6 separate regions of the Homo sapiens genome follow, and all the other regions are linked to region 1. The links are contacts of gene promoters, found by promoter capture Hi-C in blood cells and fetal thymus (Javierre and others, 2016). All regions are on one chromosome and are shown on one strand. Each heading gives the region's core, a stretch centred on a gene start or on the middle of the fragment in contact. The rest is flanking DNA. Distances are from core to core; before and after follow the strand shown. Region 1 holds the start of SPMIP7 (sperm microtubule inner protein 7). Region 2 overlaps COBL (cordon-bleu WH2 repeat protein). Region 3 has its middle 5.5 kb from the start of GRB10. Region 4 overlaps GRB10 (growth factor receptor bound protein 10). Region 5 overlaps GRB10 (growth factor receptor bound protein 10). Region 6 overlaps GRB10 (growth factor receptor bound protein 10).

Evidence for each region. Contacts are between HindIII fragments. The CHiCAGO score rates a contact against its expected background, and 5 or more counts as called.
Region 2: a contact is called between a fragment that was not itself captured here and the fragment with the promoter of SPMIP7 in region 1, in 1 of 17 cell types (M2 macrophages). The highest score is 5.0, in M2 macrophages.
Region 3: a fragment that was not itself captured here is called in contact with the fragment with the promoter of SPMIP7 in region 1 in 2 of 17 cell types (non-activated CD4 T cells and activated CD4 T cells); the score reaches 6.8 in non-activated CD4 T cells.
Region 4: a fragment that was not itself captured here is called in contact with the fragment with the promoter of SPMIP7 in region 1 in 4 of 17 cell types (naive CD4 T cells, total CD8 T cells, fetal thymus and 1 more); the score reaches 7.5 in naive CD4 T cells.
Region 5: a fragment that was not itself captured here is called in contact with the fragment with the promoter of SPMIP7 in region 1 in 8 of 17 cell types (naive CD4 T cells, naive CD8 T cells, activated CD4 T cells and 5 more); the score reaches 8.9 in naive CD4 T cells.
Region 6: a fragment that was not itself captured here is called in contact with the fragment with the promoter of SPMIP7 in region 1 in 8 of 17 cell types (activated CD4 T cells, naive CD8 T cells, non-activated CD4 T cells and 5 more); the score reaches 9.9 in activated CD4 T cells.

What each region holds. Positions count from the first base shown.
Region 1 is chr7:50,093,384-50,098,520 of GRCh38, forward strand. SPMIP7 (sperm microtubule inner protein 7) reads left to right here and starts at 2,500. Exons shown (of 9, transcript NM_001161834.3): 1 at 2,500-3,255. The coding sequence starts at 2,703. LOC124901630 (a long non-coding RNA gene) reads left to right here. Exons shown (of 2, transcript XR_007060321.1): 1 at 1-347; 2 at 432-958. The HindIII fragment of the contact is 3,144 bases long and covers 376-3,519 here.
Region 2 is chr7:51,085,694-51,090,830 of GRCh38, forward strand. The region is part of intron 6 of COBL (cordon-bleu WH2 repeat protein); the gene reads right to left. Among named protein-coding and RNA genes, the nearest start is that of COBL, 230 kb to the right of the region's middle. The HindIII fragment of the contact is 3,249 bases long and covers 1,330-4,578 here.
Region 3 is chr7:50,785,787-50,790,923 of GRCh38, forward strand. It overlaps a transcript of GRB10 not described here. Among named protein-coding and RNA genes, the nearest start is that of GRB10, 5.5 kb to the left of the region's middle. The HindIII fragment of the contact is 3,227 bases long and covers 945-4,171 here.
Region 4 is chr7:50,741,112-50,746,248 of GRCh38, forward strand. The region is part of intron 3 of GRB10 (growth factor receptor bound protein 10); the gene reads right to left. Among named protein-coding and RNA genes, the nearest start is that of GRB10, 39 kb to the right of the region's middle. The HindIII fragment of the contact is 3,648 bases long and covers 1-3,395 here.
Region 5 is chr7:50,714,266-50,719,402 of GRCh38, forward strand. The region is part of intron 4 of GRB10 (growth factor receptor bound protein 10); the gene reads right to left. Among named protein-coding and RNA genes, the nearest start is that of GRB10, 66 kb to the right of the region's middle. RefSeq lists an enhancer at 945-1,460. The HindIII fragment of the contact is 1,101 bases long and covers 2,075-3,175 here.
Region 6 is chr7:50,647,697-50,652,833 of GRCh38, forward strand. All of the region lies in intron 7 of GRB10 (growth factor receptor bound protein 10), which reads right to left. Among named protein-coding and RNA genes, the nearest start is that of DDC, 85 kb to the left of the region's middle. The HindIII fragment of the contact is 3,495 bases long and covers 1,112-4,606 here.

The sequences.
Region 1 (5,137 bases), core at 1,250-3,749:
CAACTGTGCTGTGCAGCCCCCGGGCCTTCAGGACAACACAGCCACGCAGGGCATCCTCAAGAACATCAGTGATTTGTCCAAGATCCTAGAGCTGAGAGAGAATCGTTGGGCCCCAAATCCCGTGCTTTTACCTTTGCATAGCGTTTATGATCGAAAAGCCCTTTTTATGAGCCAGGTGGTAGATGTGGGGCCCAGTTTCGAACAACAGATAGTGAGAATGCATGAGTTAAGACGTGTAAAGCCCTCAGTGGACTGCTTTGATCTAGTAATGTCAGCAGATAGTATTTTATGGATGTGTGGAACTTAATTGGGAGATAAATGCAATACACACTTAGTGGGAATTAAAGGTAAGTAAGGCCTTTAGCCTCAGAAAGAAGCTTGATGGAAGGACAGAGGAAATAACCATAGATGAAATTTACTTTCTAAAATAGACCGGAAGATCATCTTATAGTGTCACCTAAATTCAGCAAAACATACAAAACCATCTATCCTGTGTGGGAGACCAGAATATACCTTCTCAAATATGAAGGATTGCTGCCCTGAAGACAAGAACCAGCAGATGCAGGAGAGCTGTCCACCTGCCCTCTTTTTACCCAGAAGCAAGACATAGATTAGAAAGAGAAAAGGTATCCTGCCCCACTCCTTTACCAGGGAGAACAAAGGTTAACCACTGAAGACAGCGTCAGACCCTCATTAGCCTTGAAATGATATCAGAGGAATTAATATTAGCTTTTTTTAAACCATCTTTTGTCTGCTATTTGTTTGCTTAGCCCAAGTTACTGCCTGTAGAGACTCAGAGTCCTTTTCCTTTGTCACATCTCTAAAAATTTCCTAGTCTTTGTTGAAGATGCTATACAAGCTGGAATTCAAAGACGCTTCTTTGAGAACTACTCATTCTCTGGGTGTTCCTCATATATAAATGAAATATATTAATAAACATCTGTTTTTCTCTTGTTAATCTGTCTCTTGTAAAGGATCCATTCTAAGTACAAAGTTATGGGGGTTATTATTTTCCCATACACAGCCTAAGAGGCCATTTATAGCTAGAACTTGTTTTAGAGAAATTGAAAGAGACTCATGCCTCTACTTTTCTGCTGCTGGAAGGATTTACTTAATGGGAGCAGAGCTGTGATAGAAATAAATCTTAAGCAGTTGGTTTAAATACATTGAAGAATGAAGTTTGAGCAACTAAATGTAGAATGCCTAATTACAAGTGAGTTATCACTTTTGATATGAAGAAATGAGTGATCATGGGTGGACTAAAAACTGTCACTTGATATGCTATGATCTGGATGAAGGATTTAAAACTGACAGCCTAACCACCTAATTTAATCTCACTTGTTTAATAGTATATCTCAAAATTGTAAAGACTTTCAATGGGGCATAGGCATTCTGATTGTACCAAACATATCACCCTTGACAGTTGGCCTGATTAACGATTATGTGCCTGACTCTTCAAAGCTAGAATCTTGCCTGTTTTAACATTTTTGCTGCAGTAAGGATGATGTGAACTTTTACCCCAAATTCTAATATTTGCATTTCCTCTTATAGTAGTTCATGCAAGATGAAATTATCCAGGTGAAAGAGCTTTTAAGTGAACCAATACATTAGTGATTTAAATGATATTTTGTGTGTAGACAGTTAACTGATACCCATTGTGGTTTCCTAAAATGAACTTAAAACTCTTACTGTTCTTACTCTGGACACCATGGCAAATTTAAGGGAAGTAAAGATAATTTAGGGCATGTAAAGATGTACCTGTACTTTCATTATAATTTTCTGTTTTTCTTAAAAATTAGATATACTAGGGCTGGGCACAGTGGCTCACACCTGTAATCCCAGCACTTTGGGAGGCCGAGGCGGGCAGATCACAAGGTCAGGAGATCGAGACCATCCTGGCTAACACAGTGAAACCCCATCTCTACTAAAAATACAAAAAATTAGCCGGGCATGGTGGCGGGCGCCTGCAGTCCCAGCTGCTTGGGAGGCTGAGGCAGGAGAATGGCGTGAACCTGGGAGGCGGAGCTTGCAGTGAGCCAAGATCACACCACTGCACTCCAGCCTAGGCGACAGAGTGAGACTCCACCAAAAAAAAAAAATTAGATGTACCAATTTAACTTTAGTAATGTTTATATTTTGTAGTGCATTTAGATTTACATTTAATTAGATAGCAAGTGTTATATATATAAATACTTAATTGTAGTCACATATATACTTTTGAGAAATGTATTGTCACTGAATTAACTGCTTTATTTACACTCCTTAAATATATTTTATACCCATAAAATACCAACTTATGGAAAAATTTTAAAATAAGTAAATGAACACAGCTTTCCTGAGCACTGGGGAGAAAAGTATCATGGAAATATTAGTACCAAGGCTATTTTTGTTTTTCTTAAGAATTGTGATGTACATAATAAATGGTTCAATGTGTTAAGAATTCTAGCCGTTGCCAGGCAACAAGGGCTCTGCTTTATTCTCCTTATGTCATGTTCCTTCATTGCCCTATTCTTCCTTTGGTGGAGGAAAATATTTGCCTTAAAAAGAAAAACAAAATTATCTGCCAACATTTAGAAAGCTGTGTCAATTTTATACTAGTTTAACACAGATCTTTAGTTATTGGCAATAGAGTTTATATAGTTAAATATAAAGGAATTATCAGAAATACTTTATAGTTATCAAAAATTCTAAAGAAAAAGGCCATGGATGTAGAAATTCAGGACACACCTGGAAAGATAAGTATCTCTAAAAGGTCCATCCTTTCAGGAACTGTTGAGAATATAGATTACCCACACTATTGTGATCTCTTAAGAAAAATGAACATGCCTTTTGTGAAAGGTCTTGAGAACAGACATAACTATGGCAGGTTTGAAAAGAAATGCAACCCTGCTTTTCTTAAATTTCACCCTTATCCCCCTTCAGTTTTGCCAGACTATCATTTACATGATCCTTATCCCCCACCATATGGGCCACATTATCCATTATTTCCACTTCGGGATGATGTGACCTTAGGTGATTCCTGTTCAGGGTTTATGAGTCCTGGTGGTGATGCTGATTTAAATCCTGGCATTGGCAGAACCATACCAACCCTAGTGGATTTTAGTGATGTGAAACCTCAACATCGAGTTCCCAGACCAGACACAGGATTTCAAACAACAATAAAAAGGCAAAAAATTCTATCAGAAGAACTGCAACAGAACAGGAGATGGAATTCCAGGGAAGTACCAGACATTTCTATCAGAGCAAGACTTGGAGGTAAATGAAGTGACATGAACTTTCTATTTTTTAAATGCTCAAGGGAAGAGAGTATGGACATAAGATTCAATATTTAGGCAGTTAAATTAACAAAATTACAATGATCTGAAAAAGGTTTTATTTTTAAATTACAGATTATAAGAAACAAAGGAATGATAAACCTTATAAACTTATTTGTAAAAGAAAATTTATTCTTTAAGAAAAGAACATTCATTAGTGATTAACACAAAGTATATAACATTATTTATTCTAGATATATGGATAAGCTTGTTTTACCACAGGGGAATTTATGTATCACTTTGATAATTGTATAGAAATCCTCCTTATCTGTCTCTCTCCTTTGAAAGAATGAATTCACTGATATTATGAAAGAGTTAGTTTTAAGGATTGAAATAAAATGGGAAAAATTTAAGTACTTGAACGTACATTTTTTGGCTCCAATAAGAACAGAAGCTGAAATGAAGCAAACTCTGCATAAATAGCTCCACAGCCATGGAGGCAGGTTTGATGACCTCTTACTGACATCTGCACCATGTGGTTTCTCTGTAAGAACTCCTGTAAATGGAGTTCCTCTAAATGATGAGAAACACCTCCAAAGGAAAGCCACAGGTACTATTTTCTGTATAAAAGCTGTCTGGCAGGCAGGAATGTAAAAAGATCAACATTTTTAGCATCGGAAAAGGAAAGGGCCAAATGCTATAGGAAGAATACTTTTAAACATTATTCTAAGAAATTATAGGTTGAAGAAATGGCTTAGCAAAGCTAACATAGGGCTAAAATGGTGTTAACAGACTTTGTACCACCAAGTCAGAACCAAGTATAGAGCTCATCTGTCCCATGTATTTCACTGCCTGAATCAGTGAAACAGAGGAGTTTAGAGAACAGGCTTTAGACTCAGACTGTCTGGCCTTGAGCTCTGGCAAAAACTCAGTTGCTGTACGACCCAGGGCTAGTTACTATTCTCTTTATGCCTGTGTATCCTTACTTGTAAAACTCACCTAAGAGTAAAACTTCATAAGATAATAAGTAAGGGTCATTTTATGTTAAAAAAAAAAAAAAACTCACCTAAGAGTGAAACTTCGTAAGATAATAAGTAAGGGCCATTTTATGTAAAAATACCTAAAATAAAGAATAAATGTCAGATTGTAAGAAGTCCAAAATTTTCAGTTTCTTCATACATAAATTAGGAATAATCTTACTTCTTTTATACATTTGTAAGAATCAAATGAATTAACACTTGTAAAGTGCTTAGCAGAATCCCTGAAACCTGATAAAACATTTCATTAATAGTAGCTCTTATTATTAACTATTAAGAGTTTCAAAAAGTAATACCTGCAATTTGGGGACAGAGTTCAATATAATTTGTCCTAGGCTTTCAATGACTTTGTACATCCTGGAAACAATTAATTGTAAATGATAAGTACTTTCAGGATGTAACAAACCTAAATACACGTTATTTCTAATACATTCTCATAAAGACGGTCATTTCAGAATTAATTACATACACACTGGTATGCTCTTCAGTGGACTTTCACAAATATCAAAGAAAAATCATAAAATATTATATTGCTGATTTCTACTTGCCCCATTCCAAACCTGTGTAGACCTTTTACTGAGTTTAGTACTTCCTTTCTTGATCCAGTTGTCTCTCTTTATCATCTACCAATTAACAATTCTAAACTTATTCTAATTACATTCAGATCCTTTATAGTACTCTGCCTCTCATTGCAGTAGATGATCCAGTCTTTGTTATCACAGAAGAGATAGACCTCATCTATTGTCACTTCCTTGATTGTCCTCCACTTTGGCCTCCTGATATCAATATTGATACCACTTTGTATGTCTTTCTATCTTTTTTTAAACCATTGTATTAAGTCACTTT
Region 2 (5,137 bases), core at 1,704-4,203, 990 kb after region 1:
ATGGGCTGCCGTGAATTGTGATCACACAGAGGAAGAGCTGATGGGGGCAGCTCAGACCTCACCCTGCTCTGACTTAGGTTTGTTTCCCTGACTGCATGTTCACGTTCCAGAGCAGCTGCAGCCAAGACTATCTAATGGTCCACAGGTGGACACATCTTGATCCAGAATCGCAATGAAGTTTCTTAGTATATGGGTTATTAGATCGGTGTATGGGACATTAGCCCCCAACCACAGCAGAAATCCAGCTCCTGCTCACAGCTTTCAACAGTGAAAGACACACAGCTTCTAAAGGCAGCTCATGAATACTGGGCAGGTCTAATTGCTGAATGTGAAATCTGTTTTGTCTGTAAAATTGAATTCACTGATTCCATTTCTTTGTTTCTGAAGGACTACATAATCCTACTCTCCTCTCCTCCTCATTAGGGCGAAAGTTTTTATTCGTTCACTCTCATTGATTAAAATTCATTGATTAAAGAACATTGTGTATAGAGCAGTGCAGAGTATGTGCAAAGAATGGGCCAGGCATGGTGGTGGACACTTGTAGTCTCAGCTACTCAGGAGGCTGAGGCAGGAGAATCGCTTGAACCCAGGAGGTGGAGGTTGCAGTGAGCCGAGATCACGCCACTGCACTCCAGCCTGGGTGATGTAGCAAGACTGTGTCTCAGAAAAAAAAAAAAAAAAAAAAAAAAAAGAATGAACATGGTGACTATCATATGACAAGAGCTGTCCTGCTCTCTAGTAGCTCAGAGCCAAGTCTGTACCTCCAGTCCAAGTACTTCCTGGCCTTCCAAGGGCTCATCATAGGAATGGTGCCTGCAACACCCTGCCTCTGCCACTTCAACTCTGACCTTGGTGCTCTCTGGTTTATTAACTCATGCTTGCACCATGTGTACCACGTATATGGGAGAGAGAAAGGGGGAGAGAGACAATGAGAGGGAGAGAGAGAGAGAGAGAGTGTGTGTGTGTAAAAAGTCTCCTTTTAATTTTTATCAGCAGTACACATTTATTGCAAAAAAGTTAAAAAATATATGTAAAAGGAAGAACATAATCACTTTATTAATACTCAAACTACTAACAATTGGCATGTTTTTCTAGACTATTTTTTCTTCTAAAAATATTTTTTTCTTTCCTTCTGTTATAGTATATTATAACCACCTCCTATACCTCTAAAATTCTGTAATATATTTTACATAAAACATGGACATAACAGAAAGTAAATAACCCCATAAAGATGAGTCAAAACCAGCAATTTATTGTCCACCACCCCCTCTCCAGCAGTAAGCATTTCACATTTTTTTTTTGGCATTTATTCCGTTTTTCTAAATAAGAAGCTTATTGTACTGTTTCTTGATTTTTCCATGTTAGGTATTGGCATCTACTCCAGAAGATGAGGATTTGGTTCTTTAAGACACACACATACACACAAACACACACACACACACACAGAGACATACACACACACACACACGCACAGACTCATACTTTTCCTCTCCATTTTCCAAAAAATTATAGCAAAAGATTTAAATTAATATTTACTATTTAGTTATATATATTTAGTTATAGTAGATATCAAAATTATGAAAAATATAAGTTTTCTTCAGCAGGAATTTTCTCCTCCTGAGATGTATAATGTATATCATAATTACAATTTCTAAATTACCTTTTTGTTTTCCCTGAACCTGATAACTGATTTGTTTTCTAGCTTTTTTCTTTAATTGCATTTCCTGGAAATTCCCATTCCCTCTATTCAGTTCTGATCCTTATGGATATTCCACCTGTTTTGTGTGGGGTTTTTTTGGTTGTTGTTGTTGCTTGTTTTTTTTGAGACAGAGTCTCACTCTGTCGCCCAGGCTGAAGTGCAGTGGCGCGATCTCGGGTTCCAGTGATTCTCCTGCCTCAGCCTCCTGAGTAGCTGGGACTACAGGCACTGCCACCACGCCGGGCTAATTTTTGTATTTTCAGTGGAGATGGGGTTTTGCCATGTTGGCCAGACTGGTCTTGAACTCCTGGGCTCCAGTGATGCACCCGCCTCGGCCTCCCGAATTGCTGGGATTACAGGTATGAGCCACTGTGCCCGGCCCCGCCTTTTTTTTTTTTTTTTTTTTAATTCTCTGCATCTTAGTGGTTCCCAGTTTCCAGCAACTTTCTGACACAAGATGCGTATGAGGAAGATTTTTGAGACCTTCAAAATGTAAGAATGTTTTTATTCTACTATACTGGACAGTCAGTATAGATGCCTACAGGAACCTAGGATGAAAAGAATTGTCCCTCAAAATGCTAAGCCATTACTCCACTGTCTCCTAGTTTGGAACTGTTCAGCTGAGACACCCGGATCCAGAGTGGGGCTCAATCTTCTGCATAGTATCTGCTTTTCCTCTGCAGGCTCAGGGGCTTCTGAGTCCTTCCTGCTGGGAAGTTTCATGATGGCAAGTGCTGGGTGGGGCTCTTTTCATTCATTGTCTGGGGCATTCACTGACCCCTGCAATCTGAATATCCTTAATTCTGCAGAATTTTTTAGTGTTATTCTTTTCAACTTTTTCTTTCCTCTGTTTCTTTCTCTCTGGGATTTCAATTAATTCAACACTGAGGATTCTAATTCAATTGTCTATTTTTTTCTTGAGTACTCTTGCCTAAATTTTTTCTGATTTCCCCCCCTCTTGGAAATTTTCTCCATTGTAAGACTCATGAATTTTTAAATTAGTTACTGTTTTTTTTTTGTTTTTTGTTTTTAATTTCCAAGAGCCCCTTCTTGTTATGTATTTTAAAAATAGCATCATGGTCTTGTTTCCTGGATACCATAGCTTCTCTTTCCTCTCAGAAGCTATGCTTTATGCTTTATATCTTTTTCAAGACCACATTTTAATTTCCATTTTCTTCAGCCATATGCATCGCACTTTCCTCCAGCATCCTTTCTGCTCTCTGTCTTGGCCTCTGCTTATCATATTTTGAGTCTTCCTCAAATTCATGACTGATTGTTTATAATATGTATGTTTCTGTGTCTAGAGTCTGTTCACACAGTAATGGGATTCCCAGTGGGGATCTGGGCAGAAATGCAGTAGCTGAGAGATCCCCAGATATTCATACCTGCAGGATTGTCTGCTAGCTCGGCCATCTTCTGCACAGGGGAAGCCCAGCTCCTGCCTGAGGGAAACTAGGCCTTCCCGAGTACTCTGGTGAGAGGGCCTTGAAGCTCTCCTGTGGCATGTGGGTTTTCGCTTATCCCTGTGTCGGTGCAGACTTGGTTGTGCCTGATGTCCTGAAGTCAGAGCCTCTTAGTTCTGCCACTGCAGGGGGTGGCAGTGCAGACATCTGGTTGTGGTGGGCAGGCAGGGGTATGGAGATCTTACTGTTTCACATGCAGGCATTCAGCCATTCCTTCATCATCAGCTCGTTCCACGGTCATGTGCAAACAAACATGTGCCCCAAATTCCTGAGTGTCCTAGGATCTGGCGTCTTCTGCTGGGCCTCTTTCACCCAGCAGTCAAGTTTCAGCTTCTTCTGCTTTACTAGGTATTTATCACAATCTAAATACACCGCAGGCTGGGCACAGTGACTCATGCCTGTAATCCCAGCACTTTGGGAGGCTGAGGCGGGTGGATTACTTGAGGTGAGGAGTTTTGAGACCAGCCTGGTCAACATGGCAAAACCTTGTCTCTACTGAATATATAAAAATTAGCCAGGCGTGGTGGCGGGCACCTATAAGCCCAGCTACTCGGGAAGCTGAGGCGGGAGGATAATTTGAACCTGGGAGATGGAGGTTGCAGTGAGCCGAGATCATGCCAGTGCACTCCAGCCTGGGCAACAGGGCAAGACTCCGTCTTAAAAAAAAACAAAAAACAAAACACTGTAGTCCCCAAAGTGTCTACTGAAAACTGTCATCAGTGGCCATTGCTTCTCTCGTCTTTGTCACAGTGAAGTAATACTTTTTTTTAGTGGAGTTTCAGAGGGAGAGACATAGATTTGTTTTGTTAGCCATATATTTTCCTGTAATTTTTCAGCTTTACTGAGGAACAAACAAGTAAACATTGTGTGTGTGTATGGTATACAACTGATGATCTGATATACATATCTATAGTGAAATAATCACAAGCAAGCTAATTAACATATCTATCAGTTCACATCATTACCATTTATCTTTTTTTTTTTCCTTTGTGGTAAAAACACTTAAAATCAACCCTCTTAGCAGAATTTCAACTATTTTTTAATGGCTGCCTAGTACTCCACAGAATTGATGAGCCATAATTAACTAAATTAGCCCCTATTGCCTTTAGCTAAATATTAAAATTATTTGGTTTTGGCAATAACAAATTAAACTTCTTAAAACACTCTGTAATTTTATCTTTTCCTCACATTTCTTTTTCTCTCTTTATTTTTCGAGTTTTCAATAAATCCATTTACTAAAACTCCTCAGGTATACAACACATAAAATTCAGTGAAGAGACAAGATCCTAAAATTGCTATCTCAATTTTAAGACTCCTTGTCATGAAGAAGTGATGTTGACTAGATAGCAGAAAAGGAAGCCCCGCACCTCAGTTTCCCCACAAAGACATCAACTTAACAGCAATTTGTAATCCAGAAGCTTTTATGAGAACTCCAGAAACCAGTTAAGAAGGCACAGGACCATAGGCAAGCTTAATGCCAAGAATGGCCATGCTGAAATGGGTAAGAAAAGCCATTTCACCTCAACTGTGACAGCCCTTCCCCTAACCCAGTATCGCTCAGTGTCTGCAGGAGAAAAGCCCAATTCATGGCTTTTCCCTTGGGAAGAAAAGAGAAGAATGGAATGTACATCTAACATTCCAGCTTTTCAGGGGGGCTGCCTGAGGGACTAGTTTATGTCTCGACTGACTGGGAGCACTGATGGGAAACTGGCACACTTTGAATGCCTGGGAGCTACTGAGAAAAAAGGAGCTCAGAGGCTGGTTGCAACAGCAGAGATCTGCCAGTGCCACAGGCAAAGGCCAGCACAGCTCAGTGCAATCAAGAGAAAGCACCCAGCTCACTGCTTATCCCTCGGGAGGAAATGAGTAAAAAGTACATGCAATGTTCTGGATTTGTGGGGAGGCTTGTTCAGGGACTGATTTCTGTCTCAGTTGACCAGGAATACAGACAAAACTGAAATACTATGGATGACTG
Region 3 (5,137 bases), core at 1,308-3,807, 690 kb after region 1:
AATTAAAAGTAAATCATTTACAAATGGGAGAGAAGAAACGATACACAAAAAGTTTTTAAAAATTAATATCTACAAATGAGATAGACGTATCTATGAAATAAGAATATTATGCCATTAAAAAAAGAATACTCACTTTGAATGTCAATAATGTGTCAATAGTCAACTGTAACAAATGTACAGGATTCCCAGTAGTGGGAGAGGCTGTGCGTGTGTGGGGCAGAGGGCATGTAGGAAATCTCTGGACCTTCCATTCAGTTTTGCTGTAAACCTGAAACTGCTCTAAAGTCTGTTTTTTAAAAAGAATATAAATATATATATAGAGAGAGATCCTAAGAAATTCAAAATGAAAATAGAAACAAAATCCAACAGAAAAGTTAAAAGGTCAAATTGAGGACATATCCCAAAACCTAAAAACAACACAACAGACACAGACTATTAGATAAAAAATACAGAGAACCAATCCAGGTGGCTAAAAACCAAATAACTGCCATCCTAGAAAGAGAGAAGAGGAAAATGGAAGAAAAGAAATGAAAGGATTAATTCAAAAACATGTCCAAGACCAGAAAGATCTGAGATTCCAGCTTCAATGGGCCCTCAACATACCCCACACACAAAGTGGAGACCCAACAAGACTCATCTTCAAGGAACTTCGGAACAAAGGCACAGAGAATATCCTACAAGTGTCCAGACATGACAAAACAAAACAAAAAACAAACCAAAAAACCACTCTGGTACTCTTTCATACACAGAATCAAGAATCAGAAGAGCTTCTTTCTCAACCCCATTCTGCCTAAAGGCAATGGAAGCCTCTAAATGTTTTAGGGAAAACTATCTTTAATTTAGAAATCCATATTCAGACAAACCGTAAACTGTGAGAGTAGATGGACATTTTCCCAGACATGCAAGGTCTCAAAAAGTTGACATCTTGTGCACCACTTTTTGGAAGCTTCTATAGAAAGTACTCCATCAAATTTTGGAAATAAACCAAGAAGAAAAGTCATGAGATCCAAGAGAAAGGCAAAGGGGCATTCCTGGGACAATGGAGAAGAAAGACTCCAAGACAACAGCTGTGCAGGGAGCCTCAGAGCAACCCAGCCTGCTGAAAGCAGAAAGGCACACAAGGAACTGCTTCCAAAGATAAAACTGCAGATCACCTTAGGCCTTGGAAAAGAGATTCACACAACTCTGTAAGTTTGGAGGGAAGAATGGTAAGTACATTTTAAAAACTAGGCAAAAACAACTCCAGGAGAAAACAAAATGTCCTAGGAGAAAATCACAGTTATCACAGTATACTACATGGCTCAGCTATGAGCAGCATTAGGGGACCATCCCAACACTGCATACTGATGGAGCTGAATGGACCAGAAGAGACGATGAAGAGACAAGAGTGAGTGTAGGGTGGGGATGGGACAAAGGGCATCATCCTCACCTTCCATGGAGTTTGAAATCAAGAATCACATGAAAAATGGGGCTCTGGAGAGCAGGAGGAGGAGGAGGAGGAGGAGGAGGTTGCCAGGAATCGCAATCTATTGTCTAGACCTCTTCAGAAATATGGAAGTACGTACAGAAAAAAATCTGCTGATAAGTTACTTCTGGGGAATTATTTCATCTTTAACCTATGTCTACATATCACTCTGATTTTAAAAATCCAAACTAAATTTTAAAATAGTTTGCTCTGGGTGTTGAGGAATTAGGAAACCAGGTGACCCTTCAGACGAAGAGAACAGAAACACTGTGTGATATGGACAGGCAAGGACAGCAGGGGGACAGTGCCCTGGGCAGGGACGGTGGGTCAGGACAGGGACAGCCTGTGTCCACTCACTGCCCTGCAGGCCTAGGTGGGGAGAAGGCCGGGGAGACCTGTGATGGAGAGATGAGGCGACAATGACACTAGGAAGCCCTCCTGACTTATCCCTCCTGCGTCGCTCCATCACCTCACTAGGATCGCAGGCCAAGACACTCAACGTTCTCCTCTCTGGAGGGGATTCTGTGAGATGCACGTGATTTTCTTCAGAAGAGGGAGTGCGGTACCCTAGAACAGACACCTGGAAGCTCAGGTAACACCCCTGCAGCCTGTCCTGGGCCAGGGTGGTGTGGCCAGGGTGAAAAGATGGGCGGGGGAGGTGCCCTCTGGCTCAAATCAGCCCATACGGGACAATTAGAGGGCACTGAACATGACCCAGCCAGCTCAACTTCCCACAGGATGTGAAGACCGTCTAGGAACAGCGATCTCAAGCAGGGCCCCAGGCTCAGCACCAGGCACTGTCCCTGGGCAGGAAGCTGTGGTACAAACTTCTGAATTTAAAAGTTACTCAATTCATGGTAGCTTCTCAAAGCAGGGAATCCAAAAATTATTCTATGAGGTATGTGGTATTATAAAGGTTTTTATACTAAAGGGAACTCTTCACTTACAAAAGGCTGGAAGCCACTGCCTAAATACTCCCAGGGATGAAAGTTAAAAATCAAATAAGTAAACTAAAGGCCCTGCACATCAGAGAAGTGGGGACCTGCCATCTCAGTGGGGCCCAGGTAGCTTGCAGTGAGCAGCCTTGGAGGTTCCTGACCCTCGACTCCCATGTGAAAGGACAAGAGAAGGTAGAAAGCGGGTCTTCAGCTATCCCTCATGGTCCTCTATTGCTCAGACGTCCCCTTGGAGCTCCCAGAGTGAGACCCCTGACAGCTCACAGACAGGACCAGACAGAGAGCAGTCCCCAACGCAGTGCCACCTGCACTGACCCAGCACATGAGGATCCCAGCCCCCAACCCCACATTAGCTCTAGTGACCTTAATGACACAATGATGAGGACCAACACACGCCAAAGTGCCAAGTACTTTGGGAAACCCATGTTAATAGGCAAGACTGCCACTGTTCATGCCCAGTTCCATTTACCTAATACAAAACCTTTCAAGAACTTCAGGGAGAAGCAGGACTGCCCACTAGCACAGCCCTGGATAGAGCTCGGAGCCACATCCCAGGGGCACATCAGCCTGACCAGGATAAGCGGTCCACAGTCATTTCAGTCCCAGCTAGGATAAGTGCCTCTGTAAGAGTCCAGACACCAACCGTGGGGGCCTGAAGACAAATGCCACAGGCTCCACAGGCCTGGAGACCAGAGATCTGTCTCCACACCCAATGCTGCTGCCCATCAGAGCTTACGCACTGCAGGGGTCTTCACAACTTCTGCTCCTGGTTGAAGGAAACCAATTTTTGACACCTGCTATTCACTATTATCTGGTTCAAATGGTTTGCAGCCAAGTGAAGTCTGCAGTACACCAGCTATCTTTGCTCTTAGAATTCTACCTGTGAGGAGTTCAAACTGTCACGCTAAACACAGTCAACAAAAGGATTCTTCTGAGCACTGACTGTGGCTCAAAGAACATTCAGATAAATTCAAACAAGATTTTGTGCAACTAGCATGTACAAAGCACTGGAAGACAAAAATACAAAAGCCAAGTCCCCTTTCTAACCAACCTTATAAATTAATAGCAAGCAGGATATCAAGTCCACAAACTGCTCTAAGACAAGGCTGACGGCAAAGTGCCTACAGACATCGCCACAAAGACTGCATGAGCTCTGCATCGTGCCAATCACACACATCACACCTCGTGCTACCTTCCCAACAAGCCGTGGGGATAAACACGCCTATGGCTTCCATTTTAACGGATCAAGTTGGTTCACTTGTTCAGCCTGGCCAAACTAGTAAGTAGTACAACCAGGAGTCAACTGAGGCAGTGTGCCTGCTGCCCTGGTCAAATAGAGCAGAAAAGAAACGATATGGTGGGAGGGGTTATTCCTCCCCAGCGCCCGTTCTCAGGCTTGACGTTAACAACAAAAAGTCCACTCTGTTGCTGGGTCCAGCCCAAATAATAAGCCCCTCAAATTAGGGATCTGAAAAGACTAGAAGAATCTCCCCAGAAATCCATATGTAAAGTAGATGGTTCAAAAATATGAATATTCTAATACAGGGGAAAAGAAAAAATCTCCTTAGAGTCACTATATCCTAAAAGCAAAAAAATCAGAACCACTCATTTCTACCTCTGAGATTATTTTTGATAACCCCAGGAAATGGCTTCTTCTGTTGCCATCTCAAAGGACAATCACACCATTTTTCAATCCATTATTAAAGAAGAGCCATCAGCCTGCCTTTCCACGAGTAAGCGGGTGGTTTTAAGCTTTGACTGCTTTTATCTCCCTGCAGTTAGCAGGCCCTGTGATCACCAGGAGCATGGACAAAAGCCTCCAGAAGACAAAAGTGCAGGAAAGCTCATTTCTCAGAGATCAGTTCAGAAGTGGTCCAGGTTGGGGGTGGGAGTCTGATGCAAAGGTGTCCCAGCCAAGAGGAACAAGGAGTGAAAACAGATACAGCTCCCTAAAAGTGTGCAGCTAAAATATTCACACAAATTAAATACCAGCCAGGGGCTGAATGGATCAGACCAGTTATACCCCTAATAGTATGCAAACTCTGAAAGTGATCCCTAGAACTCCAAAGTACCTGTCTGCCAAGTCTCACCCACCAAGTAGTTGGACGACCTTAATTTCTTCCATAATCTCCCACACTTCTGTACTTCTACAGTTATATAAAAAATAAAATAGCACAGGTTAAAAGAAAAGTCTCCACTACCAGGAAAAAAAAAAGTTTATTTAAACTTTGAAGGACTGATTACTCAAATGAAAGACAAGGCAAATATGTTCTCCTCACAAGCCATACAATGCCACGTTGGTTTAATAAACTGAGAAACAGACGCGGGGATTACGGAGCAAACGTGCAAAGGCACAGGCTTCCCCTCCAGGGAGCAGGACCAAAATCCCCTGCATTTAGCTCTGAGCTCTGACAGGCTGGCAACCTAACCCTAGATACAAGCTCAAATACATTCTACGATCCCGTAGGTTTCTCTTCCCCTTGCAGTTAAGAGTCGGACAGAATTCCAAGGAAATAGATTCCATTCCTTAAATTATGCCACCTTTAAAGCATTCGGTTTTACCAGATAAACCAATCAAGAATTTCTACAGCTCTAAAATGAAGCTGAAGGCACAATAGATGACTGTGTTCAAGCTGGAGTTTGATTTCTACACATAATATAGCCTGTACCCGGAAAGATCACCAAAATCAAGTTCTGAGCTAACTCTTCGAGTCTG
Region 4 (5,137 bases), core at 322-2,821, 650 kb after region 1:
ACACTTCAATAAAAAGTTTACATTAAAAACAAACACTATGAGAGTCTCAAGGAGAAAACGAGGAAAACTAGTTGTTGCAGATGTTGGTCTATTATGTAGGACAAAGAAATAAAATTGGAATGAGTAATGAGAAGGCATTAATTGATATTTATGAAAAACAGGCATTTGCAAATATTTATAAACATTTGCAAAATTATTATTTTTTAAAAATACTAAACCACAAAGAAGAGTAGTGCATTTTACAAAAATGCAAAGATCTCTGGAGTTGCAGAACACGGCCCCAAGGAAAAACCTGTTACATGCTGCCTCCTCCCAGCCTGCATGCAGCTGCAGACAGGACCCCAAATGTCCAGCACTGAGACAGGGACCGTAGGCCAATGTGCCAAGGGGCTCCATGCTACATCCAAATAAAGAAAACCAGAAATTAGGAACATGTGTTTAAAAAAAAAAAAAAAAAAAAAAAACGAAGGCACTTGAAAATTAAAAACAAGCTCTGGCCTAAATAAGTGGTTCAAGGAGGAAATAAAGATACAATACAGTCCTAGACAATTAGGACAATGCACACCCCCATGTGTCAAGACAAATAAAATGAAGCAAGAGAAATAAAAGAAGAAAAACTCATGCCATGAAATGCATATTTTATAAAGACAAAATAAATGAACACCAACCCATCCATCTTGAACCAGAAAGAGGGAAATATACAGTCAAAAATCGGAAAGCAAAGCATGACAAAATTGAAATCCAAGAAATATAATAAAAGACAAATCTCTTAAATGTATAGTCAAAAAAACATACAAAATTTTAAACAATGAAATACAATGATTTTTAATCACACAGTAATTTTTATGCACACCAGTAAAGAAATAAATTTTGAACATTACTGAAATTTTAATTTTTACAAAAAAAAAAACCCAAATCAGAATCATCTAAAGTAAAAACACTTAAAATATAAACAGTGAAGATGAAACTGAGTAAAACCCAAACTCCACCCACCTACCAATATAAAGAAAGTGAATGGACTTGGATGGAAGAACCAATCAATGACCATAATTTGTCAAGGGAAGGAAAGAAAGATTCTGAAGCACCTGTTAATAACAGGCACTTGGCTCAGTGCTTTTTATGTATTTGTCTATGTGTAAACACACGCGCACGCGCGCGCGCACACACACACACACACACACACACACACACACACACACACACATACACGGCATCCATTCCCACTGATCACAACAAGAAAATGAAGTGCTGAGATGAAGGCCAAGGGCTGGTGATGGGACTCAATGAAGGAGACGAAGCTCAGTGCAGGAGTCCATGCTCTTAACCAGGATCCTACAAGTCCTAGGGTTTTCAAATGATGGTCCCCGGACATACAGCATGGGCATCACCCGGGTGCTTGTTAACACACAAATTCTGGAGCCCAGACCCTGACCTACTAAACCAGAAACTCAGTGGAGGGGGTGTGGTCCCATAACATGTGTTTCTGCAAGCCCTTGCATGATTCTACTGCTGACATAGTCCCAACTACTGGACTGCATATTACATCACTAGGGGGAAAGGGGAAGACTCTGCATGCCCAGGCTGCATCCCAGACCAAGGAAAATGAATCTCGGGGATGGGGAGGGGGTGGGGGGTAATAGTGTTAAAAGCTCCTCAGCTGTTTCCAAAGGTAAGCACCACCACTCTTTTCTTTAAATTACTGTTGGTTTCTATGATGTCTGCAGGGGGAAAATATTGGGGAAAAAATTCAGTAACGCTTTGAAGAATCATATCTCACTTCCTGGGGGCTGGGAAGGGGGAAACTGCTGCTACTACACTGCTTGAAGTAAAAACTATACTCGGTTCCTCAAAATGCCCTAACTGAATCCTAAGTACTAGATCCCTAACTAAAAGCTGTACCTGTTCTGCTTCCTGCCTTTAAAAAAAATAATAACTCTTGGGTTTTTTGGCATATGCAAATACAAAGAATGCCTTTTAGAACACCAATTTCCGCTTTTCTTCCACAATGCATTGATGGGAGAAGGGGGAGAAGGGACAGATTCAAGAGCTATTTTAATTATCTGCAGCAAAGCATGACCTCATTGCTTCCAACTGCACATTATTAGGTACAAGGGTCTATATGTGACCATAGGTATGAGGATGACCTTTGATTTTTTATTCTCAGCAGTTTGAAAAAGACTTGTGTGGCATATTCTATTCAAGCATCTACAGTTCCTTCCACTTCAGTAGTCTGGTCAGCCTCCCGACAGAAAAGAGTAAATTTTTTAAATCAATACATGATCTTGAATCTGTTTCAATGGCTTTGAAACGTAAGCGTGGGTCAGATCACGCAGTGCTGCGAAGCACAGCACCACTTTACGGTGGCCACATCCCTACTGTCATTTGTGGGAAGCATCAAGTCCCCTCAAGAAACCTGTGCAGACACACTAGCAGCATCCCCACTCAACCGATGAGAAAGAATCCAAGTAACTTGGCCAGCAGTTACTCCTGTTGCACAGCTGCATAGTTAATTTGAGATATGCTCTCCGCAAATCCAGAGCCTGAGTCCTGAAGGGGACAGCACAGAACCCCAACAGCAAGATCCTACTCAGGAGAACCAGGAGAGGCCGACACCAGAAACTAATTTTCACTTTCTAGGCACCCTCACCACTAGCACTGGTGTCAGAGAGAAGGTCTTCCCTTTTGCCGTGCTGTGGTCCACACACAGACATGAATGCCCAGGGCAGGACTGTTAATGCAGTGATCCAACTGATCTGAGACCCAGAAAGTCAACAGAAAACTTGAGCAAAGGTAACCACAGAAAACAGCCTAGGCTATCCACAGGCAGGAGGTCCTCGAATCCCTCCATCCTAAAAGCCTCACCAGAGGAAAACACCAATTTTCTAGCCCTGAAAAGAGGTGGGGTGATGAAGGCCACCTCCACATGCAGCCTTCTCAAGCCGCATTCACCGAGAGTGGATACCCCTGCTCTGTGGTAGGCATGTGCAGAGAAGAGGAACCCATGTGCACAATGAAGTCTAGACACACTGTGGAACAGGTCAGAGTACTGCCTCAATCGTAGAGATTAGGACGCAGGCGCTGCAACACCACGACCACAGGACTTCATGGAAAAGAAAAGAAACCGCGTAGAACCATCACAGGCCGGCAGGCTGGAGTCAAAGAAAAGGACGGCAGGGAGGGAGCAGTATCAGGTGCTCCAGAGATCAAAGCATCCTACCTTTATGCACCCTGGGAATATTGGCATGGAGAAGGATGGGGAGAGAAGAATAAACATTACACAGCTGAGCACTGAACAAGGTAGGAGTTGGAGCACGAACATCCCATGCAGTTAAAAGTTCATGTATAATTTTTTACTCCCCAAAAACTTACCTACTAATGACCTACTGTTGACTAGAAGCTTTATCAATAACAGAAAGTCATTAACGCACATGTTGTATGTCATATAGTTATTACATACTGTATTCTTAGAATAAAGTAAGCTCTTTGGGAGCACTTCCAGTTTCACTAGTATGGGTCCCCTGTGTTATTCAAAGTTTACGGTATTGCATTAAACATGAAAAATACACAAGACCCACGAGAGGTCACTTTTTAATGCAATGAGCAATTTACTGGGATGGGAGCTTCTCACATGGAGATGATTAGCATCACATGGCATTTAAAGCGTATACTTGCAACATTTGAGCTCACAGCAACAGTGGAATTATTACAGTAGTACAGTAATTTTCATAACTATGAAATTAAGTGCAGTATGTACTACAGTTAATTCTATGCAGTGATGATTTCATACAGCACCTTCATGGGTTTTTTTACATTTCTGTCAACAAATGGCTCCATGTATGGTCTGTGTTTGTGTAAGTTTTGACAAACTTTAACTTTTTTATGATTTGTATATATTTTAGAGTAACAGCCTAGTCTTCTACATATATTTTATGCATTCATGACATAGCCTTTTCTTAATTTTTTTGGTATTTCTCGGCTATGCTGTAAGATTTTTCAAACTGTTGCAAATCTCAAAAAAATTTTCTAGTAATTACTGAAAAAAACTCCACATATAAATAGACTCACACAGTTCAAATCCATGTTGTTCAAGAGTCAACTGTAATTTTAAATTTGCAATGCGTATTACTTAAATATAGATTTAAAATTGGGTTCCTTTTAAAAGAACTTATTGTTCTCTGATATATTAATATTTTTCTAAATTCATTAAAGATTTGTTTCTACCTTTGGAATCCTTGATACTTGAATTTTACAAATTCTTACAAATTACCGAATGCCTTTGGGTGTCTTCCAAGGAATAGATCTTTGTACATTTAAACTATAAAAAGAGAAACAAAAATTAAGACACCAAATCAATTAAGACAAAGAGGGGAACAATTGCCATGACAACACATTACCAACTATAACCCCCACTGGTCCGGAAGCACTGTCTTCCTTTGGGAATAGATAAAGCCAACGGGAAGGAAAAGCAAAACCACTCAGATCTGTCTTTGCCGCCTAAAAATAGTGAATTTCATAACTGTTGGGAAAACGGCTAGAACTTTATCCGAAAAATAAAAGATGCTCTATAAAACAGCCCTTGGATTTAAACACTTTATAAACTAAATGCGCTCCAAAGTCATTCCAATCAATATTAGATGGTAAACCATTTGTCCCTATAATAAAACCCAAATAACTCACAGAAGACATCTTTTTACCTAAAGAAAACTTTTTAAAGGCCTCAAAAAGTTAATCACTCTTTCTAAACGCTAAAGTAGTTAATCACACTTTCTAGATGCTAAAGTAAACTCTCTGGCTAAATTAGGAAATACTGAAGATAGTGGCATCAGATCTTAATCTCATTCTTTTGGCAAATCTTGAACAAGGCCTGGGATTTGCTCTCTTCCCAATTAGGCCCCAGAGTCCAGTATCTGAGCTGTAAGGACGCTGTCCTGGGTGCCACTGAGAGTAGGATGTGGCAGTGTGAAACCATACAAGCTCCACAGGCAGCCTGGTTTCTTCATAATCTGTACAGATGGTTCCCAACTTGACAATGGTTCAACTCAGGATTTTTCATCTTTATGATGAGTTGATGAGGATGTAAACCCATTTTTAGTTAAGAATCTCCTTACAACTTACCATTGGGTTATAGTTTCTACTG
Region 5 (5,137 bases), core at 1,375-3,874, 620 kb after region 1:
TCTCTAAACTACCCACTTAATAATTTTGACAACACAATCTTTAAAGTACCACAAGAGGATCAGTGACAATGCAAGTTATAGTCAAATTATATTTATATACTTTAAATATAACTTGAGGCCAGGAGCAGTGGCTCATGCCTGTAATCCCAGCACTTTGGGAGGTCAAGGTATGCAGATCACGAGGTCAGGAGACTGAGACCATTCTGGCTAACACGGTGAAACCCCGTCTCTACTAAAAATACAAAAAATTAGACGGGTGTGGTGGCGGGCGCCTGTAGTCCCAGCTACTCAGGAGGCTAAGGCAGGGGAATGGCGTGAACCCAGGAGGCGGAGCTTGCAGTGAGCCGAGATTGCACCACTGCACTCCAGCCTGGGCTACATAGCGAGACTCTGTCTCAAAAAAAAAAACAAAAAACGGAGTGCAATCCTGAGCCCTCCTGAGCTCCCAGGTGGGGTGCACAAAGCCATTGCAATTGCACTGAACCCAACTTCTTCAGCTTCAAGCTTCTCGTTTTCTCTCTGGGTCCCACAACCCCAGCAACCTCTACACTAAAACCAGAGAACCAAACCATGTGCGGCTGTGAGAGTGATCAACAGAGCCAGGGTTGCCCTCCTAGCAGATCAGGGCCGTAGGAGGCACATGACACACCCACATTCTTCCCCCATGAGCAGAAGGAAGAGAGAAATCTCTTCCTTGAACTTTCTCAACAATAATCTCAGAATTTGGAAATAACTCTCATTGTCCTGGCTGACCAGGAAAAGGCCCCAGGGTTTGATATGATGAATCCTTGGTGGTGGCTTTTCCTCATTTCTAAGTCCCTCCCACAGGTAGAGGGCAGGGGGCCAAGGGTAAATGGCAGCCAATGCCAAGAAGCTGGAGGCGGAATGAGGTAAGCTAGGTCTGGCCTGGAGCTCCAGCCTGGGGCTCCCAGGTGTGGCAGCCCTTTGAAGGGCAGGCGCGATCTGGAGCAGGGAAGGGCATGGAGCAGCTTCCAGGTGCAAGCAGAAGGGCTGGGCTGGCAGGGCAAGAGGACGGCGGTTCATAGTGATGCTCCCCAGAGGCTTTGGATAAAGCTCGTTTTATTCATAAAAATGAATAAACAGCACAGATCCCAGGGCTCAGGAAACTCAATCCCTCTGCCAAAGAGTGACTTTTCCCAGTAAGACCAAACTCGGGCAGCCATTACAGCAGGAACAATTGGTGGATCCCAACCTTGCTGTGGGCCATAAGAAACAGTTCACCTCGCCCTTCAGGTATGAAAAATCTTATTGTGGCATGAGCCAAATGTTTACAAACTGCCAGTGTGACAAACTATGATTCTGAGCAAATAACTTCACTCTCTGGGCCTATTTCCTCACCAATAAAATCAGGTTTTTGGACCATATGACGTCTAAACTTCTTCTGAGTTCCAAAGCTGGGTCTGCACACTCCACAAAAATGTTCCAAAGCAAATCTACTCCTAGAACCACGGTTAAAATAATATCATGGGTGACTTCTGAGCTTCTGGCCAATATGGAATATAAAGGATTAGATGTACCCTCTCCCCCTAAATAACTAAAACTGAAACAGTTTTCATACATTTGACAACAGGCAGCATGGGACAGTGATTCCTGAGACATGATCCACATGACGCAGCCCTACTAGTGCCCACTCACTGGCTGGAGAGAGCTTCCAAGCTGCAGCGCAGGGAGGGGGAATCTCCCTTCCAGGCAGAGCCTAGGATCGTCCTAAGGAGACAGAGTTCAACACTCAGGAAGGTCAAGGCAGAGAGGAGAGCGCTCAAGAGAGGGGGCTCTCCACACACATCTCCAGCTGAGGATTAATGACGCATGCATGTAAGGAAAATACCAAGACTGGGAAGAACCACCAGAATGAAGGAGACAGAGCCATCTGGAGAGAAGCGTGTTCCCACCAACCCAAATGGAAAACTTCCTTACGCATGGGACACAAGACAGCCCTCAGAAGGGTCCTGCCTCAACAGTGGGGGCAAATTAGCCCCAAACTAAAAGTGACTCTGGGCCCAGCTAACAAAGCTTATAAGCCAGCCTCAAAAGGGTCAAACTATTTCCAAGAAGCTTCTTTCCAGAATAAAGCCCAAAATATTTAAAAGAATAGCCCCCTCCCAAGAAGTAGCCAACACCCAACCAGGTGAAATTTACAATGACTGGGATCGAAACAAAAAGTACCAGGCATGAAAAGAAAATAAAACCCATAACGATAAGGGAAATCAGCCAAGAGAAACGGATACAGAAATGTCCAAGATGAAACAGCAGGCGATATATTAAAATGATGAAGATAAATATGCTCTGTGCATTCAAGAAGGAAAAGCAAAGCATGAGTGATAAGGAGAGAAGTGGAAGATATAAAATGACCAAATCCAACCCTACAGATGAAAAATGCAACACAGGAGATGAAAAATATGTGGGCAGGATTAACCAGACATTGGACACCACGCTTCTCTCCCCTCCCTCCATCCCCAGTGACCAATCTCCAAAGACACACTGTGAGGCTCCCTCGCCCAACGGCTGGCGTGGTCTGGAGAGGTCTAGGGTAGGAGCACCCTATGAAGACATAGTAATAGAAACTATCCAGAATGGCACACAGAGAGAAAAGGAAGATGGAAAAGATTACGATAAACTACCTCCAAATGATGAGGCCAGATGAGGGGAGGGAGGAAGGAGCTCAGGTTTGGGGCCAGAGAAAATAAAGGCTGCAGCCAGCACTTTCTGCATTCCCGCTATTTGGCCGGGCTGGATAAGTCAACCAAAGTTTCTGAGCCTCACTTTTATTGTAGGCAAATTTGGATCATACCCATTTCAAAAAGTTTGGTAGGAAAACTGAGTGAGATGAGGTATACAAAGTCCTGTCACAAAACACATGCTAGCTCCCTTCTCAAACTCCAAGGAGACAGTCTCCCACTTTGTGGCAGCCTAACAACTGCAAGGGGGTATCAAGGACAGAAACACAGAAAGTCTTCACCATTCCTTCCACTCAGAGGTGAACCTACTCTTACGTACTTGAAAAGCAGTTATAAGCACAATAGTCTGGTTACTGCTCCAGCTTCAACAAACAGCAAGGGAGTCAGGGGCAACTGGGCTCCACCACAGGAAGCAGTTGCCAGGCCATGTGCTCCTAATGCTGCCACCGCAAGGAGAGACACTCACTCACATGAGAAGCTTGAAGAGTGTGTGTGTGTGTGTGCATGCGCATGCGTCACAGTCACATATATATGTATATATACATAAATATGAAATTTGAACCATGTGTGGAAACACAAGTAATACAAACTTAAAATGTACACAGATACAGGTAATCTACAGATATGACAACAGGCCCCTCCTTATCCACCACTGAAGCTACAAAACATTTCTTTACCTAAACACTTTCTCCCTAAGTTAGGAACCTCGTTCATTATCAGTAGATCTGAAGACAGCGTATCTTCTCCTGTGTCCATATTATCAACCAGGTGTTTAGATGGAAATTGCTTTTTAGCACCACTTAGCCAAGGCCTCATTCTCTGAAATGAGGTTCTTGGGGTCTCTGGACCCATTGAGGAGCGATGGTCAGATACACAGATCGGTTCACCCTGTGCTGGTACCAGCTCCTGAAGGGACCTACGAGACGCAACCACAAGGCCATGGCCATGCTTTGCTTGACCCCACTCCAGACTGCTCAACATGCAGCAGGCCCAGTTCTGATCCCCCCAGGCAGAGACTCCTCTGTCACTCCAGGGAGTCCAAAGGGCCCTGGGCGCCCAGCAAAGGGAGGAGGCCAGGGACTCAGTCGGCCCAGACAATTCCAGCCCACTGACTAAGTGCCAGGACAAAGAGGGGACAGGGGATTCCCAAGGCAAGATCCGGAGGCTTGCGGAACTGTGTCCAGCAGGAAGGAAGAAAGGGAAGGGGATCCAAGCTCCCTCAAATCAAGAAGCCCAGTGCCCAGTTCAAGGGAGAATTAACAGAGAGAGGGGAGGCCAGTTTGGGGAATGGGAAAATGAGTTTGGTTTGAAATGTCCTTCTTCTGAAATGCTGGCATTACCTTCACCTCCCTGAATGCCAGTCAGCCATCTGCATGGGTTAGTTACCCATGCAGAAATCAGTCAGCCTCCAACTCCTCCTTATCCACCTATGAACTGCTTACTGATCCTGATTATTTTGCCTTCTACATCCACTTCCACCCACACTTTCTTCTCACGGCCACTGCGGCGCCCTCGGCTCAGGCTGCTCACTGCTGCTTCCTGAGCACACTGACTGAGATCAGTGAGAGCTCACTCTCACACGAGGATCCCAGAGTATAGAACTCAGGGACTCTCCAGCCTGGGTCTTAAACCCGCACTCTACATCTAATATTTCAGTTTTTGAGGACCACAGATCTAACTTTACTCCAAAGTAATTTGTACATTAAGGGCAGGTTTCAAAAACACATTAACACCCAGTTCACCAGGAGCCCAACGTTAAGTCCCGTGCATACTGAAATTGTAACCGTCGAAACCCTGAGAGCAGAGGTTGCCATTCACAGCTCTCAGGGTCAAGAGCGCTTAAGCAGCAAGAGGGGTCCTGCAATTACTGTCCAATGTCTAAGCTTGTTGAACCCCTCAAAATCTTTACCCAAGGGTGACACAGTCATGGATAACCAATCACAGAGTTTCAGAGACTTGGAGTATCCAACCTCTTGGTCACCCAAGCAGAAGAAAAATATAGTCAATCTTCAGAGAGGCTGATCCATTCAACAAATATTTACCAAGCAATTACTCTATGCCCAGCACATGAGTGTTTAAAGCAACAATCCTGCCCTATGGAGTTTGTATTTTATCTAAAGAAAACAAGTAGTGAGCAATAAACACACCATTTACTTGTTATAATCTGAGAATGCAGTGCTATGGAATAAAAGAACAGAACAGAGCTGGATAAACGGGGCGGAGACTGCAATTTACACAGAACACAAGGGAAGGCCTCACTGAAAAGGGGTCCAAAAGTGAAGACTGCAAGGAGGAAGGGCCAGGCCCACAGGTGTCCTGTGACACCTACATGAAGGAGGAAAACAAGGCAAAAGAATATCACTGCAGGCAGAGACAGAAGGCCCTGCAAAGGGAATTCATCTTAAGAGTGACCATCCTTTGAAGCTGGAAGCCATCAT
Region 6 (5,137 bases), core at 1,609-4,108, 550 kb after region 1:
CTCCCTCCCAGGCGGCAGAAACTGGGGACCAGCTGAGTCAGGAGGCTCCCATGACGACACAGGCAAGGAAAGTAAAGCCCAGGCCTGGGTCCCACAGCAGAGACCAGGCAGGCGCTGTCCAATTCTGGTACACAGGCTGGGGTGGCGTGAAACTCAAAAGAGGAGTGAGGAAGGGAATTGGGAATTCTGATGGGGGTACTGGTCTGCTGCTCTGAGATGGGAATTTGGAGGTATCATGTTTGGAGGGAAGGATCAGATGCTGACTTTGGACCTGTTGCGTTGGCAGTGTCTTTTAAGCACCCACATGGAGGTGCCATGTTGGCAGCTGGAAACAGGAGTCTGGGCCTTGAGGAAGAGTTTGGATGGGAATGTAAACCGGGGAGTAATCAACATAGGGACAAGATGGAAAGCTGAGGGAATGGCCACGGCTGTCCAGGGAGGGAGCGCAGAGAGGGGAGACGGAGCACCAAGGCCCAGTGACTGAAGAGCCAGCAACGATGGCTGAGAAGGAAAGTCCAGCAAAGAGGGTGGAAACCCAGACGGAGCTGTGGAAAGGAGAGCAGCGAGCGACAGGAGCCCTCATGCTGCTGCAGGCCCGGCAAGCGGAAGACAGAGAACCCCGCTGGCTTTAGCCATGTGGATGCCACCCTGATGGGAACAAGTGGAATTGAATAGCACAGTGGGGACAAAAGCTGGGCTGCTGGAACGTTTTTAAAAAGGTTTAAAAAGGAGCATTAGGAAACCAAGGAAAATGATAATCTTCTGAAAGCAGTAATTTTAACCACTGCCTTAATCTGTGAGGGAAAGGAAGGCAGAGCCTCGACCCAAGGCGGTAAGGAAGACCCATCCTCAGTTTTGCCTTTGGGAATCCTTATCCCAAGTCCTCTGCCAGCCCAAGGATGGCAGAGCATAGGTCCCCCTCCCATAGAACGCCTGGGGACTTTCCAGTTGACCACATCCCTCCTACAGCTACTCCCTCTGGGCTTCCAGAGTTTCCCTTCTTCAGGGCAGTGTGCTGTGAGCCCAGAACACTACTTCTGGAGGTCATCAAGGTCACTGAGACATAACAATGGACTTATTGTTTGAAGTAGTCCCAGGTCCTTTTCTTTGAAGCTTTTGAGAGCAATCTTCTCAGCTCTCCCGCTCCACTAGGAGAGGACAAAGTAAATATTCTGGGTGGGACTCCCAGGCCTCAGACCTACTCAATGTGGTCGGGCTAGCTCCTGATGGATGCATTGGTTAAGGTCAGCTGCCTCTTCTTCCTGCTCCTGAGTGGCCACGGGACTTGGGGGTAAGAAACCCATGTTGGGGAGCTGGGTTCTGATCCTGGCTCTGCCAAAGCAAGGGCGACCATCCCCCTAGAGGAGCATCCAGAACTTCTATAAAAACAAGGCCATCGTCCTTGTACTCGTCTGCCTGGGATGTGCTGGGCTCCATTCTCGGAGGTGTGGACAGAGCAGTGAATAAGAGACCCTGTCCCTGTTCTGGGGGACTGACGTTCTAGTGGTAAAACAGAGAACAAACAAAATAATCTCAGGAGACAGTGAACAACACGGAGACCACAAGCAAGTGCTGTGTCAGAGGGAGGCTGGCCAGGGGCACTGCCTTTTCCAAAGAAGCCCAGGAAGGCCCAGAGGAAGAGATATTTGAACTGACACCTGAATGATGACCAAGTGGCAGTGAAGAAAAGGTCTCAGGAAAGAGCCTCTGTGTGGAGACGCCACAGGGGAAATGCACAGAGGTGGACCTGAGCTGGCAAATGTGAGGGACCAAGAAGGCCAGGGCAGCTAGAACACAGTGACGACACACACGGGGGAGGGAATGGAGAACGGGACTGTACACCCCACAGGGGAGAGCTTGGATTTAATTCTGGGTGTGATGGGAGAACAGTGGGATTCAAATGACTCTCTAGAAATCATACAAGAGCTGCTGGGCTGTGGATGATATGAGGCAAGGTGAGGTGAGCAGGAGACAGGCTGCTGTGTCGTCCCAGGCTGGGACTGGAGATGGCATGGTGGAGAGGACAGGAAGCACTGGATATGGGACACATTGGAGAGGGAGAGTTGACTGGATTTGTACCTGAGTCCAAAGGGGGAATCAAGGATATGCTCCTCTTCCTTGGCCACAGCAACTGAGCGGACAATGACCCCTTTTAGTTAGGTGAGGAGGCCTTGGTGTGCTTCGACTATATTTTCTTTTGTTAAATTTCACATGGCAACTAGAGACCCAAGTGAAGACGGAGGGTACCTTTCAGTGGTGACTTGTCCTGGTTATAGATCTGGGTCATGAGCAGAGAGATGGCATCTGACGGCATGGGGCCAGATGCAGTCTCTCAGAGAGAAGACCACTAGAGTGGGGGAGGCTGAGGACAGAGGCTTGCGGGCCTCCAAACACCAAGCAGCCTGGCAGAGCAGGAGACAGCGAAGGGATGAAGGAGCAGAGAGATGAAGAGATCACAAGCTGGGGTCGAAAACACTTAGGGAAGCAAGTTTCTAGGAATCAAAGCTGTGTCACATGCTGCTGAGATGCCACCCCCAACTGGCCACTGATCTTAACTAGAGGCAGGCCACAAGGCCCCTTGATGAGACCCATTTCAGGCACCTAGTAGAACAGAGCGCCAACCAAGGTGGGTGGGGGAGAAACCAGGAGAGGAAAAGTAGAGACAGGGAGTCAAGCAGCTGGTCCTGGGAGGTCTGCAGAAAAGCAGCATAAAAGGAAGCAGCAGCCAGAGAGGAATGTGGCCACAGAAGGGCTTCACTTAGATGAGATGTGTCAAGGCACGTCTGCATGCAGGCAGGAATGATTCTGGAATGAGGATGAAACTGACCATGGAGGAAGGAAAAGAAAATCAATGACTACAGACTCAACGTCCTAGAGAAGATAAAGGGGGCAGCTGCAAATGGAGTGGTGGCCCTGGGAAGATGTAAGGATGTGTTCCCCTGTTTGGGTGGGAAGACAGGCAGGTGAGTGCTGATGGGGAATGGATAAAACAGGTGGTAGACACAGCAGGTGGCTCTCATTGAGAGCAGGTCCTGCCTACTAAGCCCAAGGCTACGACACCAGGTGAGAAGTTAGAAGGGGGAAGAAAAGGAGTAACAAGTTGTCTTTTTCATGAAAGTAGTGAATAAATTGGGAGTAGGAAAATCTCCTGGGAGAAAAAAAATCAAGGGATAGAGAGAGGAGACTTACCTTTTTCTTACTGATTTATAAGAGCTCTTTATTTAGGATATTGCAAATGTAAATATTGCAAATATTCTTTTGCAGCTTATCAACAGTTTAACATTTGATTTACAGCATTAATTTTCTTCATGGTCAAATCCAGCAATCTTCCACTATGATTTTACCTATTGCTTTAATAGTTAGGGTTTCATTCCTTAATCTGAGGACCAATTAATTATTCAACTATATATTTTTCTATTCCTCCTACGGTCTGATTTTTTATTAACAGATTAATCAACCTAAAAATATTTCAGTGTATGTGTATTAGTTTGCCATGGCTGCCATAACAAAATGCCATGAACTAGATGACTTAACAGAAACTCAGTGTCTCACAGTTTCGCAGAACAGAAATCCATGATCAAGATGCGAGCAGGTCTGATCCTCCCGAGGTCTGGAGGGAGAACCCACTTCTGGCCTCTCCTGGAGGTTCTGGCGGCTGCTGGCATCTTTGTCATTCCTTGGCTTACAGAAGCATCACTGCAATCTCCACCTTTATCTTTATGTGGCATTCTCGTCCCGTGTCTATTTGTGTCCAAATTTCCCCTTAGAAAAGGACACCAGTCATATTGGCTAAGGAGCCCAGCCTACTCCAGTACGACCTCATCTTGATGAATCACATCTGCAACATTATTTCCACATAAAGCTACATTCTGAGGAACTGGGGCTAGGACTTCAACTTATGTATTCTGAGGGGGACATAATTCAATCCATAACAGTGTGCAATAAGGCCCTAATTCAGCTGCTCATCCAAATAGTTTATAGTTGTCGGAGCACATTAAATTAAACAATGATGCCACTTTTACAAGATTCTAACCTTGTATGTATTTGACTCTCTTGAGTACATGCTTCAGTGCACAGAACTTTCACTCTCCATTCTTCAACTCAAACCATGTGGTTTTCATGACAGTAGCTTTATAACATCAAAGCCACTCTTTTGAAGAAGGTAATCTGTCAGCATTGAAAGACCAAATCCAAATGGTCTCTTCTGTGTTTCCATCCAACCCAACCTCTTGGCAGGGCTGGACCCTGCTGACGACCCTCACTGGACGCCCAGCCACACAGGTCCCACTCAGTCTGTTCTAACCTCTTCATCTCAGGCTTCCATGTACTGTCCCCACTTGGAAGGGCCCTGATCTATTCTGGAAATTGTAGGTAGAATTTTGGATTTCAAATTTTCAAAAACCTAGATGTAAATAATGTGTATTTCTAGTTCCAAATCAGGGTTCTGACTGATTCAGTGGCTGAGACAATATAAAACTAAATTAAAACAAGAACTCCATCTATAAAAGTAAGTGGAATACCATCTATAATAAAAGAATATGAGAGCACACACTGCTAGTATTGCAGACACCCGTTAAGTACCTGAGACCTGGTGGGCTGGGCAGCAAGCTTCTAGGTTCCCATCAGGGCCACGGTTATGGCAGGGGCAAATCTGGTTCTCTTTAGTCTCTATGGCATAAAAGTTGTTCACCTACAGAACAACTTCGGTTTCTATAGAAGCAACCTGTCCTTTATTAGGGGAACTCCAAATTACACCAAAGAGGGTGGACACAGAATAAGAGAAGAACGCCTTCCAGGGACTTGGGCCACTGAACTGACTGCTAATAAAAGAACAAACAATGCCTTTGAGGGAGATGGCCATACAGCGTCACCAGAGAAAGAGACAAGCCACATGCACCAGGTATGTGTCCAGAGACCAGGTCATTCCAGAGTGGGAGGAGAAGGATTCTGAGACTTCCGCTGCTTGCTAACAACCAAGCCCTCCGATCAAATACCTGAAAATCTTAATAGCATGAGATTGGTCAAAGCAGACACCACGCAGACTTCGCTGAGACGGCAGATTTTTCTATCAAAATGTTTCTTTTTACCCATCCCCTTCGTTTTCTTTGCCTCATCCTTTGGCTTATTGCACACCAGG